2 separate regions of the Homo sapiens genome follow, and region 2 is linked to region 1. The links are contacts of gene promoters, found by promoter capture Hi-C in human tissues and cell types (Jung and others, 2019). All regions are on one chromosome and are shown on one strand. Each heading gives the region's core, a stretch centred on a gene start or on the middle of the fragment in contact. The rest is flanking DNA. Distances are from core to core; before and after follow the strand shown. Region 1 holds the start of KIF21B (kinesin family member 21B). Region 2 overlaps KIF14 (kinesin family member 14).

Region 1 (7,310 bases), core at 3,614-6,113:
CAGCACTAATGACTATACACTAGCCAAGTGACCTTTGAGCTCATTTCCTCTTCTGCAAAATGGGGACGAGAACAGTATTTGCCTCATAGATTGTTGTGAGGATTAAAAGAGAAATGTTATGTAACACCCTTGGCACAGTGTGGCACATGGGTGAGGTTGAGGCCCGGGGTATTTGTGTACAATGAGGACCCAGCATGCCCAGCCTCCCTCCTCCCCTGTAAACACTGACCCTGAACCCCGAGGCCCGTCACTGAGTGGTTAGCAGAGGATGGATAATTTTCTGCAAATCTGTCTTCTCCCGCCCTCTGGATCTGACACTGACCACTTGTGCCATGCAAACTTCATTGCCATAAACTACGCCCCCACCCCCAGCCTCATTCACACTCATGTGAGACTTCTTATCCCTCACGTGACTGCTTTATGACAAATCTGCCCTTCTGTCCAGTTAGAGGATAAGAATCCATTGAAGAAGGGGTAGAGAATCCGAGGGAAATGGGAAGGAAATTAACATCTATTTTTTGCTGAGCACTGTGCTGGATGCTTGACCCACGTTACCTCATTTAAACCTCATAATAGTCCTGTAATGAAGTGAGTGTGATTATTCTCATTTTGAGATGTGGGAGCTGATGCTTGGAGTAGTTACACACAGGCCCAGGGTTACAAAGCTAGTCAGTTGCAGAGCTGGGATGTGAACCCAAAACTCGGTGACTCAGAAGACCACACTTCAGCTTCTGGGCTGTCTTTTGCTATTTCATTCAGAATTTTTTTTTTTTTTTTTTTTTTTTTGAGACAGAGTCTTGCTTTGTCCCCCAGGTTGAAGTGCAGTAGTGCGATCTCGGCTCACTGAAATCTCCACCTCCCGGGTTCAACCGATTCTCGTGCCTCAGCCTCCTGAGTAGCTGGGATTACAGGCATGTGCCGTCACATCTGGCTAATTTTTGTACTTTTTAGTAGAGATGAGGTTTTGCCATGTTGGCCAGGTTGGTCTCAAACTCCTGGCCTCAAGTGATTCACCTGCCTTAGCCTCCCAAAGTGCTGGGATTACAGGCGTGAGCCTCCACACCTGGCTTAGACCTGACTTTTATCCAGGCTATAAACTCACCAACTGCCCAACCACAGATGTTTAGCCTTTGGGTTCTATTGTGCTGCTGTGGAAACTGTCCTGCTTCTGGAGTACAGGGACTAGGCTTTTAGTCACTGCTCAGTCCCTACCTTACTATGCAACTTTGGACAAGTCCTTTTACCTCTCTGGGCCTGAGTTTCTTCACTGAAAATGAAAGGGCTGGACTAAATTTCTCAGGTTCTTTCCATATCTAGGATTTGGTAACATTGAGAATTGCCCACATCTCTTCCTGCCTTTGGCCCTAATACTGTATTAGAAAGCATCACAAAGTAGAAAGGCAGATAAAGATCCCACATTTGAAGTTATACAGAGCATTAATTAGACTCTCGTTATTATTTGAAACTAAAAATAGTTTGTTTTAAGATTGATGGCGTGTTTGTAATCCATAGCAGGTTTCTCCCTTCCTTGCTATTTATAACAACTCTGGTTTCCTCTGTAACTAAGTCTGTCTCCTCCTATAAAAGAGGAAGTCAGGCTAAGTCTGCTCCTGAGCTAAGATCTCCTGAGTCTGCACCCCAGGAGAGGCTCTCTGGAGCTCTGAGCTCCTGTTGCTGGGCAGAACTCGGCTTAGTCTCCAGGTGGGCATTGGAAGATATGGCTGGACTATATGCCAGCAGGATGGGCTATGCCTGCTCTCCCATGGAACCATGCATAGCTGCTGGGGTGTGGCTGGGTATTAGGACTGGAGGTCCAGAACGCTGTATCTTCCACTCCTACAAGTTTTGCTTAATGCTTAGAGTTTTTTTGCAAATGCCAATGCCCAGTGCTAACCTGAAGAAGATAAAAGGAAACAGGGCTCAAGTTCAGGCCACTTTTGGGAGACATTTCCAGGGCCTATAAGTATCTCTTAGGTTTTTGATTTGTTCCTATAGGGTTGTTGTTGAGAGCTGGGTGTCCTGGAAGATCTGGGCATCCCAGATGGCTGCCCCAAGTTGCTGCCGGATTATTTTAACTACAGTAGCGTGGGAGCTTCCTGCCTCAGAGAGGGCTCCCCACACCTCCCCCAGGTTCCCATCTGCCCAGACGCCCACAGCTCCTGTCAAGAGAAATGATGGAAGCCCCAAGATACCTGGGGGAAGGGCCTCAGCTCAGGACAAGAGCTGGGGCTCCAACCCCAGTCCAGTCAGAGAACTCTCAGGGCCAGCTCATGGTTGTATGCATGTGTGTGTGTTTGCCTGTTTCTGTGAGACAGTGAGGAAAGCATGGGGGTGGGGGAGATAGGCACACGGGCAGCTAATCCTGAGAAACTCTGGGGTTTGGGAAGGAGGGAAGGAAAGGAAAGCTGGAAGGGGATAGAGGTGATGGGAGAGAGGGGGATGGGTAAAAACCAAAGAGAGGAAGCAGTGGCTGTGCTGAAGCTGGACAGAAACTGAAAAGGGCAAGGCTTGTCCTAAACTTCCTCTGACCCATCTAACCTAAATCTCCCCACGCTGTGGTTTAAGCCTTTTTCCCACCTTGGTTCTCCATCTAGCCTCTGAGCAGCAGAACCCAGGGGGGATGTCTGGATGCTGGCTGCCCTGCTGCTCCCTGGTGGCCCAGGAGGGAGCTACTTCTGAGTAGCCGAAGTCCTGAGGCTCTGACATTTAGGAGACCTGAGTTTCCCGCCCGTGTGTATCCCTGCTTCCCCTGACTCAACACCCAGTGACCTGGAGGGATGCAGAGAGGGTGGGCAGCAGCTCTGGAGGCATTTCCCAGCAGTAGAACTGTGAGTCAGAAGGGTCATCTACTGTCGGAAGTCAGAGGGGACCTCCTGCAGGCAGGAAACCAGAGTTGGGCCCCAGAGAAGTCCAGAGATGAGTTGGCGGGAAAGTAGCTCTTCAGAATGCAACATTACCATCCGGGAAGGCTGAACCTGGAGTCCGCTGTGCCTAGAGGAAAAGCCTGGGCCGGCCTAGCTCCCTTCTGCCTGGACATCATCATCCCTTCCACCTTGGTGGTCATCTGGGAAGCCTGGAATAAGATATACATGTCCAAATCTGGAGTCTGTTGCTTATATGCTGGAATTCATACATGTGAGGCTCAGTTTCCCCATCTGCAAAATTTAAAAAGAATAAAAAAGCCTAGCTTACAAGGTTATAGGGAAAAAATGAGAATATGTGCATAAAATACCTTGTGTAGGTGGTCCATATGTGTTAGTCTCCTCCCCACGAATTATTTTGGTTGGAAGATGGGGAGGAATGTTGCAGGATATGACTGCAACATTCTGCTAACCTCCTGGTCCAGGAGAGGTGATCCCCTGGCCCCAGGGAGAGCTTCCTCTAGATTCAAATGCTAATAAAAGGTCCAGGATACCACCAAGACCTCTTCTCCAGCCCCCATCATGGGGGCACTGCTGGCGGTGCTCCTCCTGTTTGCCATGGGGATGAAAAGGATGTGTTGATTGGCCCTTGAAATTTGCCCTTGAAATTATCTTTGGTTTTGATTTGACCTTAATAGGTCAAGCCAAACAGGGATCTGAGCTACTGCATGAAGCAGTTATTGGCGGGGAGGGGGGTGTGAGTGGAGGAGGGAAGGGGAGGAAGATGGTACCAACAGATGCATCCTCAGACCCCAGTCCACACCCTTGCCAAAATCTCTGACATGGTTTCATCATCTGAGGGTAATGTAAGAGGCCTGGAGTCAGACTCCCCTTCCTCCCCTCCCCCAGAGATCCCCATCCACATCTGGGGCTGCAGCTGGGTCCTCCTCTTGGGCCCTTTCCAGGGGAGGGAGCTGGGTGAAGTGAGGGCAGCTGGTGAGGGGCCCTGTGAATGGCCCCAATGTTGGGAGGCAGGGGGCAGGGAAGAGGCGTCTGGGCTCAGAGGGAGGGAGATGGACTGGGAAGGGAATTGTGACTTTGCAGCACTGGTCTCCTCCTCCATCCAGGCCCAGCGTTAAAGTCTCCATGGTCCTCCTTGTCCTTTATACCCATTCCTGCAGGCAGCTGCCCTCCTTCCCTTCCCCACCCACTTCACCGCCCAGCCTCTCTACCCAGGTGCTCGGAACTGAGGGCCCCCTTTGTTCCCTCCTTTCCCCCAGGGCAGCTCAGGCCTCCCACACTGACCCTCTGGCCCCACAGCCACAACAAGCAGAGTGTGAGCCAGGCCCAGTGGGGTCATCTGTGGGTCATAAAGGTCAATGGGACAGTCGTCTAGCAGTAGGGAGGGGCTAGTCTTGGGCTAGGAGCCTGGCCAGGAATCAACTAAAACATGAGCTTTAAGATGCTGCAGGGTGGAGGTGGGGGAAATTTTAGTTAGGGGCTAGCAAGAACTCCCTTCGAGAAGGGTTGGCGAATTTACTGGAATAAATGCAGAAGGGAAGCTTTCCTGGCTCTTTTGAACTATAAACCGTCAATCGCTGTGGGATCCCCGGGAGACCAGGGTTCTTACCATGCTTACCCACGAACTCGCTCTGTAACCTTCGGTAGTTCCCCTCTTTGAATCTCAGTTTCTTCATTTATGAAATGAGGGTCCCATTGAAGCCGAGGTTCTGCTACTCCAGGAGCCGAGGTTCTAACGTGGTCTGCGTCCAGCGCCCCCACCCCTACTCCCACCCCTACCCCCACCCCCACCCTTCAATCCCGCCCCCTACCCCCAGCCACCCCGTGGCCGCGAGCCAAGAGGTCCCTTTAAAGGCGCGAGTCCCGCCCCCACTGCTCATTAGGGCTTTCGATTGGCGGCTCCTGGGCGGGGCGGGGCCCGGCCTGGGCTCGGGGCTGGCTCGGGGCGGGCTCGGGGCCGGATCGGCCCCCGCCCCCTTTGTTCGCGCTGCGGCGGGAGGTGGCTGCCGGGTGGGAGGTGTGTGCGCGTGTGCCGCGCCGTAGGGAGCGGCGGGTCGCGCCGCCGGCTGTCAGCTAGCTCCGCGCCGCCGCCCGATGGCGCGAGGAGGCGCGCGGGCCCAGCCCCGGGGGGCCGGCCGCGGGTGAGCCCCTCGGCCTGCCGCCCGCGAGCATGTCACCTCCAGCCGCCGCCGCCGCAGCCTCCGCCAGCCGCGCCCGCGCCCCCGCCTCCCGCAGCCGCAGCCGCTGCCTCGGGCATTGGCCCCCAGACCCCCGCCTCTGATCCACGCCCAGACCCTAGCTCCAGAGGGCCATGGCCGGCCAGGGGGACTGCTGCGTCAAGGTGGCCGTCAGGTAGGGACCCGGGGCGGGGAAGGGGGCGCGCGGAGAAGCCTCGGGCTTTGTCTCGCGTGGGCTTTGGGCGGGGGGCGCGAGCACCGCTTGGGCTGGAGCCTGCACTCCCGGAGGAGGGGCCGGCGTGGGACGGGATGGAGGGCGCCGCGCGCTGGCCAGTCTGCCGCAGGGGAGCGGCGACCCCGCCGACTACTGGAAGGTGGCTTTGTTTGGGTGGTAATTTTGGGCCCCTCTTGGGAGCCCTTAATGATCAGAAAATCGAATAAACAAGGAAATCCGGTATTTCACACCCAGCTCTGGCCCAGGCCGGAGCGTCTGTGCGTTTCCTCTTCGCCTCCCCACGAGGCTGCTGTCTCATACGGGGATACCAGAGAGGGAAATTTCCCCTCATCCATGCGAGTCAGCTAGTTATGTGCTCTTGGTCCAGCTAGCAAAGGCAGCACACCCACCCTGGGAGCCAGATCTGCAGACAAAGATCGGGTGCGGGGACCAACGGAAAAGCTGGGATGATGCCTTGGCCTTCTGTGGGAAGTCAATGGCTTTGGGGGAGAATCCTACCAGTCCTGTCCCAAGAGGAGATGGGCCTAGGAAGGGAGGAAGAGGTGTATCTGAGGTGCTTCTCTCTGAGAGGGCAGGAGGGTGTGATGCAGATGCCCCATCCTCAGGCACTCAGATAAAATTGAGCAGGGGAGGGTTGCCTAGACTTATCTGGGGTTCCATTCTCAACAGCTCCGGGACTTGAGCCGGCAGAAATGAGACAGGGAGAGGACATGGCTGGGTGGGTTCTATTGGGAGGGGTACACAAAGGTGCAGGAGCAGGAAATGCTGTGAAATTGAGCCATCTGTGTTCTTTGTGCTGGGTGGAGATGCTTCACACCTCACCACTTCTCCCAGTTTTTGCTTTGGGTTTTTCTCTTTGAGAGGGGTGTCTTGGCGGCAGAGTGCCAATCTGGAGCTGCTCACCAAGGTAGGGATGTGGCAAGAACATCTATCTCTGCCCCAGCCCTGTATGATGGAGGGGGCGGGGGATTGTCCAGGTCTAGGGTAGGTCTCTCAGGTCTCTAGATCCCTTGGGTCATATGTGACCCAGATTCCAGGGGTCCTAGGAGGTTGCTCCTAGACAGAGTCAGAGATGGCAATGAAAAAGCTTTCTTCTTCCTGCCCCAGGGCAGATGCCCCTTGCCACGGCCACCTGGCCAGGCCTCTGCAGCCCAAAGAGGAGCTGACACTGATCAGTGCTTGGGTGAAGGGAAGGAGATTGAGGCACCCCCACCCATGCACCCTAGGCAGCACTCAAGAATCACTTGAGCACAGCTTTCCTGGCCCTGAGCAGCCAGAGACAAAGAGGAGCCCTGCAGGTGCCTGGTGGGCTGACTGGGGCGGGGCCAGGCTGCTGCTGGGGCTGACATTGCAGCAGGATCTTGTGGAGGTCGAGGGAGGGGTGCATGGCTGGGGGGTGGGAGTGAGAAATGTAAATATGGCATCTGCAGCAGATTGGGAGAGTCCGAGAACACCATAAAAGGGAAATGAAGCTCTGGCCCCCACCCATTGTGAATGAGGGCTGGGAAGGAAGGGGCTTGGGGGTGCCCTTTCCACAGGGGGTTTCCTTTAGATTCCATCTTGCTGGAGAGAGCTAAACAAAGGCCCCCTACCTCTGTTCAGGTCTCCAGGCTGGACTGGGGCTGAAAAGATGTGGGACTCCCACCCGGGGAGCCTCATGGGATTGGCACAGTGAGGAGAAGCTGATGTTCTCTTCCCACTGCCACCTCTAGAAGCTTCCCGGGACCCTTTCTGCAGAGAAGGGATCATGCCTGCCCTCTGCACCCAGTTCAGGACCATGTGTGTCATCTCTGGTTCCCAGTCAGATTGCCCTAAGTGGGGTCTGGGTGCCCCCACGCCTTGCCTTTCAGTTGCTGATCTGGATTGGGGGTGGGGCATTTGAGCATCAGAAGTCAGGCTTTCAGGGTCTCCGGGAAGGTAAGGGCCCCGCCCACTCCTCCCCTCCCACCCCAGCATGAGCGCCCAGCCCCGGCACACGCCAGACCTCAATGGGCAGCCGGCCGTGTACAGCAGACA
Region 2 (7,791 bases), core at 3,983-6,482, 470 kb after region 1:
TCTTAAAAGTGAAATAAACTTATTTGGAAAGAAGTCAATGTGCAATTTATTTTTGAAGAAATTTCACATGTATGATTTAAGTACTCTCAAGCTATTTAATTGCAATCCCAGAAATAGAGCTCCAATCTTTGGGCTTCTAGACTAGAATTTTTTAAAAGTCTGGTCCCATGCAATTCTATGATTTTTGTACTTCTGAATAATAAAGTATAATAAAATATTTTAACATTCTCTATAGGTTACCAAAGAAATGAAAACTAATGCCATGGGATTGATTAGATCTCTTGAAAACATCTTTGCTGAATCGAAAATTGTAAGAGAAGCTTTAAATTGATTTTAATTTTGCTTATTTTTTATCATTTCACTTGGTTCAAATGTAGATATTTTTATTTCAGTGTTTATCCTTAGCCAGAGACAACTCTTTTGTATATGTCTAATTGTAGCATGTAAGATAGCTCTTTGTCTTTTTTATGTGTGTCATAACTTACTAGTTCTAGTAGTGGATAAAGGATTGTATAGAAATTTATTAATATGTCTGTTTCTTATTGCTACTGGTTTAATAACTGTCAGCTTTTGCTTGGATGGGTCATTATAGGCTAAAAAATTGTGTTTAATAATCATTGTGCTCAAAGATTTTAAAATACAGTTGAATTAGATAGATTATTCCCATGTCACAGGTAAAGAGAAAAATTAAGTATATGATCAATGTGTTAAAAAGGAGAGTAATTGCTATGGCTTGAAAATTTTTATTTAAATAAATGAGAACTATTATAAAGTTGAGCTCTTAAAAATGAAATAAATGTATCTTTTAAAGTATTGAATAATAAATGGCACTGTTACTTTATTCCATTCTCATGTAATAGGATGACAGACTTTGAAAATTAATTGAAAATTCTGATTTCTTTTGAAAACAGTAATTACTATTGTATTTTGGTCTTGCTTATAGAAATAGAGTTAAGCACTGGTGAGGAAATTAAACTCTCTTTCTTAAAGAGAAGATTCTGGCAATTAAAATCATATTGACTGAGCCTTACTGCCATTGAGCCTGTTAATGTATTATTTTAAATATTAACTTTATTTATACAGAAAAGTTTCAGAAGGCAAGTACAAGAAGAAAACTTTGAATACCAAGATTTCAAGAGGATGGTTAATCGTGCTCCAGAATTCTTAAAGTTAAAACATTGCTTAGAGAAAGCTATTGAAATTATTATTTCTGCACTGAAAGGTATGATTCTCCAAATGGAGTTTATAATCAGAATTTTATATTTTAAGGAACCTTAGACATCTTTCCTTTTTTTTTTTGAGATGGAGTCTCGCTCTGTCACTCAGGCTGGAGTGCAGTGGCTCGATTTCAGCTCACTGCAACCTCCGACTCCTGGGTTCAAGCGATTCTCCTGCCTCAGCCTCCCAAGTAGCTGGGATTACAGGCATATGCCACCATGCCTGGATAATTTTTGTATTTTTAGTAGAGATGGGGTTTCACCATGTTGGCCAGGCTGGTCTCGAACTCCTGACCTCAAACAATTCACCCACCTTGGCCTCCCAAAGTGCTGGGATTACAGGCATGAGCCACAGTCCCCGGCTGACATCTTTCCTTTTTATTTCTAACCTTTTCATTATTTTAGTCATTAACTGAAGCCTACCCAATGCTACTTCACTGATATTAGTTACCCATATAGGAACTTGTATTTATAATTAAATTCCCACTTAATGTATGTATCAGTACTTCTACCTAAATAATTAGATCCTGAAAAACCAAGTGCTCATCTAGCAAATAAACACTTTAGTTGACTAATCTTAAGTAGTTTGGAATTGTTTTGATAGGGTCACTTTGACTTAAAAGATATCTAGAGTCTATAAAAGTCATAAATACCTGATGAAAACTGAAAAGGCTAATTAACTTTTCCCTCCTCTCTTGCATATAGGATGCCATAGTGATATAAATCTTCTCCAGACTTGTGTTGAAAGTATTCGCAACTTGGCCAGTGATTTTTACAGTGACTTCAGTGTGCCTTCTACTTCTGTTGGCAGCTATGAGAGTAGAGTAACTCACATTGTCCACCAGGAACTAGAATCTCTAGCTAAGTCTCTCCTCTTTTGTTTTGAATCTGAAGAAAGCCCTGATTTGTTGAAACCCTGGGAAACTTATAATCAAAATACCAAAGAAGAACACCAACAATCTAAATCAAGCGGGATTGACGGCAGTAAGAATAAAGGTGTACCAAAGCGTGTCTATGAGCTCCATGGCTCATCCCCAGCAGTGAGCTCAGAGGAATGCACACCCAGTAGGATTCAGTGGGTGTGAATACTGATGTGTAGGCACTTTTATGACCACCCATGAAAGAAAAAGAACACTTGCTCGGTAATTTTCTTTATGCAGGAGAGTTTAAGAGAAATCAGCACAGATATTTCAAAAAAGTCCATGTCTTTTTATCTTTAAAATATCTATTTATCAAAGGCCAGACACAGTGGCTCACGCCTGTAATCCCAGCACTTTGGGAGGCGGGCAGATCACAAGGTCAGGAGTTTGAGACCGGCCTGGCCAACATGGCGAAACCCCGTCTCTACTAAAAATACAAAAATTTGCTGGGCATGGTGGCGCGTGCCTGTAATCCCAGCTACTAGGGGGGCTGAGGCAGGAGGATCGCTTGAACCTGAGAGGCAGAGGTTGCAGTGAGCCAAGATCATGCCACTTTACTCCAGTCTGAGCAACAGAACGAGACTTAGTCAAAATAAATAAATAAATAAATAAATAAATAAATAAATAAATAAATAAAATATATTTTTATCTTTAAAGTGTTTAACATTGGTATACTGTCTGTAGTTGGTTCATTAGTCGTTTATAAAGGGTTATTTTCTCATGAGTGGAAACCTGAACAATCAGTTACCTTTGTGCCTATGCCTTCTCTCTCCTCAGACAGCTGGGATGTTTATGGTGAAATGGCCTGTACAAGTTTAACTAAGACAACTTAACTTGCATTGTTAATCAAAAATTCTTTTCTCAAAGGGTTAACTGGTTGCCATTTTGAATAGTATGTTCAAGGGTGTAGCTTCCTGTTTCTTTCCAAATTATAAGTAGCTACCTAAATATAGTATAATTATATATTAATAATATGGCTTGCTGGCACAGTAGTTTACCCTGTTATCTGTGTTTCATAATGGGGGCTGTATGAATATTATTTAAAACTAATAAAATGTTGCCAGAATTATACTAAACTGTTGGATGAGATTAGGAGATCAGAGGCTGGACCTTCTCTTGATAATGCTTGTTTTGTTAAAGGTATAATGAAATAATTTGTATATGATTTGATGAAGATTAAAGACCCTTATTTTCCACAGCTTTAAAAAAAAACCTTTATTTATGATCAAGTAATAAAGATAATATTCTACTTGTGGGATCTTACATTACGGAAATAGTTTGACGTTTTTGACCTCAAGAGTATGTATAATTTGAAGAGATACTTTGTAACTATGCTTGGGTGATATTGAGCAGTTCCTAAAGAATAATTCATTTAAAAAAAAAGAAGAAAAAAAAAGAAGAATTCATTTAAATAACCTGATCCTTTCATTTGCCCTTTTCGAATTTACAGATACTACTTGTACATTTGGCATAACTAGTTGAAATTGGCCATTCGTACCATGAATAAATCTGATAGTTTCCTTGTTAGGAAGAGATTGTAAGTAAATACAGTCATTGCAGTCAGAACAGTATTAGTGAACCTTGTGTGGTGTTTTCAAGCTCTTTAAAATGGTACAATGTAGCACATTTGCTTTCATTTCTTTTTTTATTTTTGGCATTTGACCTTGTATTCTTTCTGAAGCTCTATATGTGTTTTTATTAGTCAATAATCTGGCAAGTAGCACTTTGCCTGTGCAGTTTGCTGGAGTGTAGATGTACATATGAGGATTTCCCGGGAGGTGCACTTCTTTGAAGAACTTCCTAAAGTACCTGTATAGTAGTTTTCATCTTAATATTCAGTATTTAATCTTCAGTTTGTGCTTTGTAAACTCATGACTTAATTGGTCAGAAACTTTTTAGTGTCTTTATAAAATTTTGTATACATATTTATACTAAACACATTGTGATACTGTATTTGAATGAATGGTGAAAAAATATTTGCTATTGGAATTATGTGCACTGACAAGAAATGTTATAAAGAGAATGCCTTTAATAAATCTTTTCAGCATTAGAATTGCTTCGTGGTCTATGCTTTTTTATTTTACTGATTTTCTTTGTTTATTTTACTCTTCATTCAGAATAGCTCTGCCTTGATAATAGCTAGGCTAGTGTTGCAAATCAAGTTAATAATTAGGAAACACTAAACAAATATTAATATTGCCATAACAACTATTTTTTTTTAACATTGTTCTGCCTCTCTTTAGTTGATTATGCCTGGAATAGATTTATCACCATGTGGTATGTGTAAAGAGCATGAGCTTTGGAGTTTGACATATTTTTCACACGTTTGGAGTGTGAATCCCAGCTGGACTGCTTAGTAACTACATGACCTTAGACATGTTACTGTCTTCACTCCCATTCCTTCATCTGCAGAAAGAAAAGTAATACCCACCTCATGGACTATCTATCTATGAGCACTTAGTGAGAAAAATGTGGGAATAACTGCTGGCAAGTAGTAGACTGTTAGTGAATTTATTTTCTGTCCTTTTCATTACCAGCTACAAAACCCTTGTTATGTATATAAGATCACACTTGGTGCAGGCATATGCCATTTATAACATTCTGCCAATGTGCCAAATTGTATTGCAGTCCTTTATGGCATACCTGAAAATATATCTGCCGTCATTTTGTTCCATGATAATAAATGGACAATAAAGATAACTAAACATTATCTTACTGCTCTTAAGGTATAATGTGCTATGTGTCCTCCATGGAGTCAGTCCATCTGAAAGTTTTAGCAAAAGGCTGTTTTGTCTAGTTAGCTAACTAGCATACTTGAGTTTACAGAGCCTAACTATGTGCCAATAAGCATTTCAAGGTTTTCCCTAAATATGGAAAGTAAGAATTAATCACAGGTGAGGGGAAAAGGTATCAGTAGTTTGGTTCAGTTAAAAAAAAGCTTATGTGCCCAGCTTCCTGTGCATGATTCATCAGGTAAGTTTGTGCTCTGGATTTTGCAAGTTACAGTCATTGCATGATATAATCAAGACTGAGCTTTTCCATCTTTCTTCCTTTAGCCAATATTAGTTTATGGGATTTTTAGATGTGGAGCATGGCCATTTAGTTTGTTTTAGTATCTGATAGCTAGGTTCATTCATTCATTCTAATAATTATTTACTTAATGCTAGGTATGCTGTTGGTGTTAAGCCATAGCAACCTGAAAAAGATTAGATTGCCTCATGGACTTTTGAAAGGCCCAACTTGTTGGATCCCAGTTGTTCATAACATTATATTTTCTCGATGCCAAAGACCTCTAAACACACTAAACTCAAGTCGGGTGCAGTGGCTTATGCCTGTAATCCCAACACTTTGGGAGGCTGAGGAGGGTGAATCACTTGAGGCCAGGAATTTGAGACCAGCCCGGCCAACGTGGTGAAACCCCAACACTATTAAAAACACAAAAGTTAGCCGGCATGGTGGCGCATGGCACGCCTGTAATCCTAGCTACACAGGAGGCTGAGGCAGGAGAATGGCTTGAACCCAGGAGGTAGAGGTTGCAGTGAGCCTAGATCACGCCACTGTACTCCAGCCTGGGTGATAGAGCGAGACTCTGTCTAAAAAAAACAATAATAAACAGGCATGGCAGTGCATGCCTATAATCCCAGCTATTCGGGAGGCTGAGGCATGAGAATTGCTTGAACCTGGGAGGCAGAGGTTGCAGTGAGCCAAGATTGCGCCACTGCACTCCAGCCTGGGAGACCAAGGGAGACTGTCAAACAAACAAAAAACCAAACAAAAAACACACACTACACTCGAACATACAGGAGAACCACCAGAGAATCGCTGACTTATTCAAGACAGAATTCAGGGGTAAACTTTTGATTAAGCAAATGGCAACTGGAAACTGCATATTTCCTGTTGCTGAATGGTCCTAAACTCAGAGAATCATAGGTTTTTTAAAGAATTTAGCCGAGCACGGTGGCTCACGCCTGTAATCCCAGCGCTTTAGGAGGCCGGGGGTGGGTGGATCACCTGAGGTCAGAAATTCGAGACAAGCCTGACCAACAAGGTGAAACCCCGTCTCTACTAAAAATACAAAAATTAACCAAGCGTGGTGGCACGCGCCTGTAATCCCAGCTACTCAGGAGGCGTAGGCAAGAGAATCGCTTGAACCCGGGAGGCGGAGGTTGCAGTGAGCTGAGATGGCCACATTGCACTCCAGCCTGGGCGACAAGAGTGAAACTCCATCTCAAAAAAAAAAAAAAAAAAAGAATTTAAGAGCGATTTTGTGGTAAGTCACAGGCTTTCGTTTCTCTGGCTAATATTCAGTGAAAACCTCTGAATTTGTCTAAAGAGCGAGCATCTGCCCATTAGGGGGCCTCATTTTCACGAAGAGCAGATTGTGCTGTCCACTAAGAAGATGGAGAATCTCTGAAATTTGGAAAATGGATATCGCTTTCTATGGCCCTACATCCCCCTCTTTTTAAAATGGTGGCTCACGTCTATAACCCCAGCACTTTGGGAGGCTGAGATGGATGGATCACGAGGCTAAGAGATCTAGACCATCCTGGCCAACATGGTGAAACCCTGACTCTACCAAAAAACACAAAAATTAGCTTCGCCTGTAGTCACAGCTACTCGGGAGGCTGAGGCAGGAGAATCACTTGAACCCGGTAGGCAGAGGTTGCAGTGAGCCGAGATTGCACCATGGCACTCCAGCCTGGCGACAGAGCAAGACTCTGTCTCAAAAAAAAAAAAAAATATATATATATATATATATGTGTGTGTGTGTGTGTGTGTGTGTGTGTGTGTGTGTGTTTACGGGCCAAGCACGGTGGCTCACACCTATAATCCCAGCACTTCTGGAGGCCAAGATGGGAGGATCACTTGAGCCCAGGCATTCGAGACCAGCCTGGCCCACATAATGAGACCTGGTCTTTATTTAAAAAACAAACAAAAAAAGAGCAGGCATGATGGCTCATGCCTGTAATCCCAGCACTTTGGGAGGCCGAGGTAGGCAGATCAACTGAGGTCGGGAGTTCAAGACCAGCCTGATCAATATGGTGAAACCCCATCTCTACTAAAAATACAAAATTAGCCGGGCGTGGTGGCACATGCCTGTAATCTCAGCTACTCGGAAGGCTGAGGCAGGAGAATCACTTGAACTTGGGAGGTAGAGGTTGTGGTGAGCCGAGATGGCACCATTGCACTACAGCCTGGGTGACAAGAGCAAAACTCCGTCTCAAAAAAAAAAAAATAAAGCTTTTTCCCCAGTTTTATTGAGGTGTAATTAACAAATAAATTGTGTATATTCAAGGTGTGCAATGTGATGGTTTGATATACAAACACATTGTGAAATCATTACTACAATCAACACATTCATCACCATATCACCATATGTAGTTACTATTTGTGAATGTGCGTGTAGGGGGTAAGGACACCTAAAATTTACTCTTAGCAAATTTCAAGTATACTATACAGCATTATTTTTTTTTTAATTTATTTTTTAGATGGAGCCTCACTCTGTCACCCAGGCTGGAGTGGAGGGGCAGGACCTCGGCTCACTGCAATCTCCACTTCCTGGGTTCAAGTGATTCTCCTGCCTCAGCCTCCTGAGTAGCTGAGATTACAGGTGCCCACCACAATTCCCGGATAATTTTTGTATTTTTTAGTAG

What was found. Contacts are between HindIII fragments. The study calls those that stand out against the background at their distance.
Region 2: a contact is called between a fragment that was not itself captured here and the fragment with the promoter of KIF21B in region 1, in 2 of the 25 tissues and cell types used here (IMR-90 fibroblasts and lymphoblastoid cells).

Annotation. Positions count from the first base shown.
Region 1 is chr1:201,021,267-201,028,576 of GRCh38, reverse strand. It overlaps KIF21B (kinesin family member 21B), which reads left to right and starts at 4,863. Exons shown (of 35, transcript NM_001252102.2): 1 at 4,863-5,234. The coding sequence starts at 5,194. LOC101929305 (a long non-coding RNA gene) reads right to left here and starts at 4,628. Exons shown (of 4, transcript NR_188464.1): 1 at 4,492-4,628; 2 at 2,958-3,073. RefSeq lists enhancers at 1-16, 6,061-6,668, 6,977-7,106 and silencers at 4,138-4,295, 4,647-5,006, 5,407-5,456. The HindIII fragment of the contact is 6,719 bases long and covers 1-6,695 here.
Region 2 is chr1:200,547,899-200,555,689 of GRCh38, reverse strand. KIF14 (kinesin family member 14) reads left to right here. Exons shown (of 30, transcript NM_014875.3): 28 at 236-310; 29 at 1,084-1,222; 30 at 1,923-4,190. The coding sequence ends at 2,302. Among named protein-coding and RNA genes, the nearest start is that of KIF14, 69 kb to the left of the region's middle. The HindIII fragment of the contact is 5,068 bases long and covers 2,699-7,766 here.